2 separate regions of the Homo sapiens genome follow, and region 1 is linked to region 2. The links are contacts of gene promoters, found by promoter capture Hi-C in human tissues and cell types (Jung and others, 2019). All regions are on one chromosome and are shown on one strand. The core of a region is centred on a gene start or on the middle of the fragment in contact, and the rest is flanking DNA. Distances in the headings are between cores, read along the strand shown.

Region 1 (3,206 bases), core at 632-3,131, 41 kb after region 2:
ATTCATTTTCTTGAGAGTGTCATGTTTGCCTGATTCTTCACTAACTATATAGCCTTATGTTCGTGTTTGTGCATTTGGATGAGCAGACACTTCCTCCAGTCATTACAGACTGGTTTTGGTAGGTAAAGATTTTCTTCTTTTGGGTCCCTAAGCTGATAAGATTGCCTCCAGGATTGCAGTTGAGTAGGGTTGCAGCCGAGTTACGTGGCTGCTGCTGGGTCTGCAATGGGGACCATGTTAGTGGGCCTATTACTAGGGGCTTGAACAGGCTTGGATCCTGTCTGGCCCCTGGAAAGAATAAACTGCTTCCAGGACCTTAGTCTGTAGAGTTGGTGCTGGGTAAAGAAGATTCTTCAGGTTTCACAGTTGGGTTTGCAGATGGTGGGCCTGTTACCAGACACACAGATGAGTGTGTATTCCTTCAGGTCCCTTGTAGTGTTCCTGCTGGGTTACTGAGTTGGTACCTGGGCAAGGAGAAGTGGCCATGGACCATGGCTGACAGGAGCTTGAAGGGAATTACAGGGCTGCTTCATGGCTTACACTGAGACTGGGGTCTGCAGACATGCCTCCAGAGACATAGAAAGGTGTGCCTCCTGCCAGGCTCCTGGGCAAGCAGGACTGCTCCTGGACCATGGCTGAGTGGGCTCGAGCTGGGTCACGGGGCTACTTCAGGCTTCTCCATCAGACTGAGGTCAGCAGCTTGCCTCCAGAGGCATTGATGGGCATGTTTCCTGGCAGATCTCTGGGTGGACAGGACTGCTTCTGGATGAAGGCTAGGAAGGGACAGAACTAGGTTGCAGGCCCACCCCAAGATCTGCAGTGGAATCAAAATCAGTGGGCCTGCCTTTGGGGCACAGAAAGGCATAGCTTTCAGCAAGCCCCTGGGTGGGCAAGACTGCTCTCAGACTGCAGCTGAGAGGGCTGGGACCAAGTTAAAGGGCTGTTTCAAGATCTGCTGTGAGACTGAGGTCAGCCAACCTGCTTCTGAAGGCACAAATAGGCATGACTCCCAGCAGGTGCCTGGGCAGGCAGGACTGGTCTCAAACTGCAGCTGAAAGTGGGTTTGGTTGAGTTACAGAGCTGATTCAGGATCCACAGCTGAGACTGAGGCCTGTGGGCTTGTCACCAGAGGTACAGGTGAATGTGATTCCTCCTGGATTTCTTGGCAGATGGTTCTAGAGGCAGGACCAAGTCCACAGGGCAATGAAGCAATTTCTGGGTTTGTAGCTGGGACCATGGTCAGTGAGCCTGCCACCTAGGTGCAGCCTGCCAGTCAAAACAGCCCTCCTCAGTCTTGGGCTCCACTAGAGTTTTGCAGTCTTCTATCCAGGTCCCAAATCTCCCTCAAGGGAACTTTTGTCCACGGATGGCTGCCAAATTCTTGTTGAGTAGACGTTCTCCTAATCTTCCATCTCGCTCTTTACTATTGTAGTTTACATGGCTGATACAGTAAGAGTAACTGACCATGCTTTGTGTTTTATAGGATAACACTGTGCTACATAGTGCGTAATACTTTTTAAGCATATATTTCAATATAAATAAAGTTGCTTACTAAAATTGTATGCAGGTTACAAAAATAACCTTCACAAAACAGTAGCTTAAAAGATGAAATGTTTTCTGGTGGTGTCTAATTTTTAATGCTGAGTGTCTAATTTAGTGTAAGTGCCTAATTTTTAATGCTTAGTGTCTAATTTTTAATGCTGCTTTTTTTTGTCCCTAGCAATTCTTTGAGGTAGAAGAAGAGAATGTTTCTTTGCAAGATGCGAGTACTGTCAAAACAAATATTTTGTTAAGAAAACTGAAAGAGAAAGAAGAAGTTATTAAAGAATTAAAAGAAGAACTAGACCAATATAAAGATTTTGGATTTCACAAAATGGTAAGTTTCAAGGCAAGGAATAATTAATTTTAATATACATAAATAAAGTCATAAATAGTTAAAAGCTTGAGTTAATGATAAATTAAAATCCAATTGCTGCATTTTGGGCATCTCCCCATAATATAAGCCAGTCTAACTCTTTTCTGCTCAATGGCCTATTCTAGAAAACCCATAACAATATGAATAGGAGCAATATAATGAATAGGAGCAATAAAATTAAAAATACAATTTTTGTTTAAATGGAAATAAAATAACTTACCTCCCACTGCAAAAAATGTCCTACTCTAGAAGAGTGTGGGAGTGGATTTTTGTTGTAACCGAAGACTCCCACCTTTTTTTGCAGTCAAAGTAGTTTGAAAGACACAAAGCTAATCTTTCCAAGCCAGAGCTTCCAAGAAGCCAACTTGGAACAGAATGACATTTAAATAAAAATATCAAGAAGAAAAATCCCAGAGGATTTTCCCCTCAGTTTTTCCTGTTGCAGTGGGAGCCAGGAGCTGCTTTACTGGTTAGACAAACTACTGATGGGAGCAAAAATGGAATGACTGAGAAGGCAGAAAGAAGAACCTAAACTCCTGTCAAGGAGGAAGTTTAAGGGCTTTGGAAAATGTGGATCCTGAGAACGAATTCATTGTCATCTCATGTCTGCTCTGAGCCACCGGATGTCCCAGGCCCAACCATGGTCCAGAGCTGGAGAGGATTTTATTCTTAAGTTCTAAGAACAAGAAGCTGATTGTTTGATTTGGAAAGGCTAACAGATGCTGGGACCCAGGAGGAATAAAAGTCTATTGAATAGCAATAGCAGGTATCAGATACTTCATCGATGGCATCTCTTCTCATTCTCACAGTTCAGTTTGCAGATGAAGAGGCAGAGACAGGGTGGTTAAGTAACTTCCTCATGGGCAAACGTAGTAGATGGTAAAGATGGTACATGAACCAAGGTTCACCTGAATCTAAAGTCCACTTACAGAGGGGGAGCTTTATCCTCTACAGTAAGAATTAAAGGTTGTAGTGAATATATAATATACATATGCATATAGAAAATGTACAGATTATAATGTATAGATTATGTTATCATAATATATTATAATATGATATATTATAATACATTAATAATTATTAATAGATTAATACACATAGAGGGCTACCCTCTTTGGGTCCTCTCCCTTTGTATGGGAGCTCTGTTTCCACTCTATTTCACTCTATTAAATCTTGTAACTGCACTCTTCTGGTCCGTGTTTGTTACGGCTTGAGCTGAGCTTTCGCTCACCGTCCACCTCTGCTGTTTGCCGCCATCGCAGACCCACCGCTGACTTCCATCCCTCTGGAT
Region 2 (3,371 bases), core at 169-2,668:
AACGGTTTCAAAAACAATCATCATCATAGCGTGGTCTCTTAGACACTGAAATCTGAAACTCCTTGATATGCTATAGCAAGGTTTCAAACAAAGATGTTCTGTTCAATGCATGTTTTTGTGGGATGGCGTAACTATGCAGACTATATCAGTCAACAAATGCTGTACAGAGCTGACCAATGACTCATGAAATCTTCTGTGCGATCTCTCTCCTCAGTTTCAAACGATTCATTTATAATTGCACTAGGAAAATAGCCAACAGCTTGTCACATTCTTTACACTGTCTTGGCCCAGCTCTAAACAGATAGGTTTTGAAATTTTAACTTAAAATTTTAATCTTTATTTTAAAACATGTATATACATTGTGGTAAAATATCACTTAGGAAAAAGAAAAGTTATTGTAGATATATAAATTTCTTTCTTTTAAAATACCTTTTGATTATATAATAAAAATTCCCCAAATAAAGTCTGAAGTTAGAGTTTGTAATTAAAAACCTCCAAAGAGTAAAAGTAACTCTTTTTCTCTTCTCTCTTCATCTCCCCCCCAAAAAATAAGCCTTCACAGAAGATGATTTTGGCATTGGTTATGATGTTTTATTGGCATTTGGGGCTTTTAATCTTTGTCTTTAAACATAATAGTAGTGATAATGCTACAGTGCTTTTCTTTTCCTGTTTTGAGCTTCTAAATCCAGCTAAGTTATTTTCACTTACTGTTACAAGACAGAGAAGAGGCCGGGCTCTGTGGCTCACGCCTGTTATCTAGCACTTTGGGAGGCCGAGGGGGGCAGATTGCCTGAGCTCAGGAGTTAGACTAGCCTGCACAACGCGGTGAAACCCCGTCTCTACTAAAAATACAAAAAATTAGCCTGGCTTGGTGCTGTGTGCCTGTAGTCCCAGCTGCTCGGGAGGCTGAAGCAGGAGAATTGCTTGAACCCGGGAGGCGGAGGTTGCAGTGAGCCCAGATCGCGCCACTGCACCCCAGCCTGGGCGACAGAGCGAGACTCCGGCTCCAAAAAATAATAATAATAATAATAAGAGAGAGGAGAAAAAACTTATTTTTCTGTAGATAATATATTGAAATGCAGATGTAGTATAGACAGTTCTAAACCAGACAATGACATTTTAAAAATAAATTTAGCCAGTCGTTTACAGAAAAACAATGACATACTGATATTAGAATAGGTGTCTCCTATTAGTTGACAATGAGTGATACATAATTTAAAACTAAGGATGACAACAGTTTCACTATTAACTCTTATTATTGTAGAAACCTGGTAAAATTGAATTCCACACTAGATGGTATAGTTTAAGACTTAACGCCTCACATTCTGACCTCATTAAATAGAAATCTGTTTAATCTCTGCAAGGAAATATTTTGTCCAGGAACGCCTACGTTTGTGGCAGGTGGAGACAGCTTATTAGGCAGCCTGCTCTCCTCTTATGATGGCCTTGGTCCGGGATCGCAGGGCTCATTATGTCATGAGCATAGTTATTAGATGGGTTCACTGCTTTTCCTCCTCCTTGAGGGGGACCTTTGGCACACGCTGGGAGGCCATGAAAGCCAAGGCCACCGAGCTGCGGGTCTGCTGCGCGCGTAGGAAGCGAGAAGCTCGGGAATTCAAGCCCCCGCAAATGCGCGGGTCCACGAGGTAGGCTGAGCTCCGCGCCTGGGTAGAGGAGGAAGCGAGCAGGGTCCAGGGGCACGGCGGGAGGCTGAAGGGTTATTTACGGGGGTGCAGCTTTCCTCTGGGGTATCGCAGCAGCCTCCAGGCTGTGGGAGTCTTGTGGGGAAGCCTTGAGGCAGGCGGGACAGTGAAAGCGCAGCGGGGTGGCTTGGGAGCCCGCCCCGCCTCCTCCTCCCCCTCTCCACTCCCCTCCTCCCGCGCGTGCTCCCTCCCCATCCTCCTTTCCATCTCTTCCCCCTTCCCCCACTCCTTCCCCCTCTTCCTTCCCTCCACACCTCCTCTACTTCCTTTCCCTCTCCCCTTCCCCCCCATCCCCAACCTTCTCCCTATCCCCCTCCTCCCCATCTCCTTCCCCCTTCCCCTCCCCACCCCGTTCCCCACCCCCCTCCACTCGCGGCCCTCCCCGGCCCCCGCCCACGGATTCCCGCGCTTCGCCGGTTACCTGGGAGTCGCCATGGCAACGGACGCCGGGTTCCCGACTCCGACTCAGGAGAGCGAGCGGCTCCGCGGGAGGCGCACGTCCGGGGCTGCAATGGCGAACTGGGGCGACTCGCCTGAGACAGAGGAGGGCCGGAAGATCATGGAGGGCCTCGAGGCCTCTATTGAACAATTCCAGTTCAACCCCAGGTGACCAGCGGGAGAGGCAGTCCCCGCCGGCCCGCCCCGGAGCCCTCGCGCCCCGGCCCTCGCTCAACGCCTTTCCAGGCCCCTTGCTCCAGCCGCTGGGCTTCAGTTTTTTGTTTGTTTTTCGAGGGGATCACTGTCCGAAAAGAGCTGCAGTTTTCACTTCTTCAAGTGTATAGCTGGACACTAAGAGCACGGACTCTGGAGCCAGACTGCCCGGATTCCAGAATCTTGGCGACCCTCTCACAGGGGCCGTGAGTTAGGCGACTGACTGCTCTGTGCCTCAGTTTTCTCAGCGGGAAATAATCGTTCATGAATGATGAAGAGTAGTGCCTGCTTCATAGATCATAGTGAATATTAAATGAGCTAATCTAGGACACAGTACCCGTCTTAGTCCCCTCGGGCTGCTGTAACAAAACAACATAGGCTGGGTGGCTTATAAGCAACAGGAATTTGTTTCTCCCAGTTCTGGAGGCTGGGAAGCCCACTGGCAGATTCCAGGTCTGATGAGGGTCCCTTCTGCACAGACAGTACCTCCTGGCTGTGTCTCCACATGGTGCAACGGGCAAGGGAGTTTTCCCCCACGTCCCCCACACCCGCTCCCACCCTGCTTTTAGAAGGGCACTAATCCCATTTATAGGGCTCCACTTTCATGACCTAGTCACCTCCAAAGTCCACACCTGCTAATATCGTCATCTTGGGGGTTAGGATTTCAACATGAATTTTCAGGAGACACACTCAGACCATAGCAGAATCATAGAAGTGTTTGCCGATGTCATTATTTGCTATTCCTTGATCCTTGTTTAAAACCCGTCCCTTTCATAATCCTTTGCCCCCTGTGTTCTAGCTTTGTTGTTTATTTGGATAATGTAGAGCTGATGTTTCTGGGAAAATGCAAATTTCTTTCTAAAAACCTTTTCAAATCAGTAGGTAGCCAGAATTAGCTTAGCTGCTATGGGAGAACTTACCGTTGTATAAGGCAGGGGCCTCATGGTGCCAGGTGGGCTGGCTTAGGGGCAAGCCCCTCACACAGACACAGCTCCAGGGTGAGAAGAAGGGACCACA

The links. The method cuts DNA at HindIII sites, captures the fragments that hold promoters and counts their contacts. A contact is called where the count stands out against the background at its distance.
Region 1: a fragment that was not itself captured here is called in contact with the fragment with the promoter of C10orf67 in region 2 in 1 of the 25 tissues and cell types used here (hippocampus).

What each region holds. Positions count from the first base shown.
Region 1 is chr10:23,301,974-23,305,179 of GRCh38, reverse strand. C10orf67 (chromosome 10 open reading frame 67) reads left to right here. Exons shown (of 16, transcript NM_001371909.1): 5 at 1,721-1,876. Among named protein-coding and RNA genes, the nearest start is that of C10orf67-AS1, 40 kb to the left of the region's middle. The HindIII fragment of the contact is 4,926 bases long and covers 1-3,206 here.
Region 2 is chr10:23,342,844-23,346,214 of GRCh38, reverse strand. It overlaps C10orf67 (chromosome 10 open reading frame 67), which reads left to right and starts at 1,418. Exons shown (of 16, transcript NM_001371909.1): 1 at 1,418-1,646. The coding sequence starts at 1,441. C10orf67-AS1 (C10orf67 antisense RNA 1) reads right to left here and starts at 2,258. Exons shown (of 2, transcript NR_155752.1): 1 at 2,125-2,258; 2 at 1,054-1,791. RefSeq lists a silencer at 1-295. The HindIII fragment of the contact is 15,239 bases long and covers 1-3,371 here.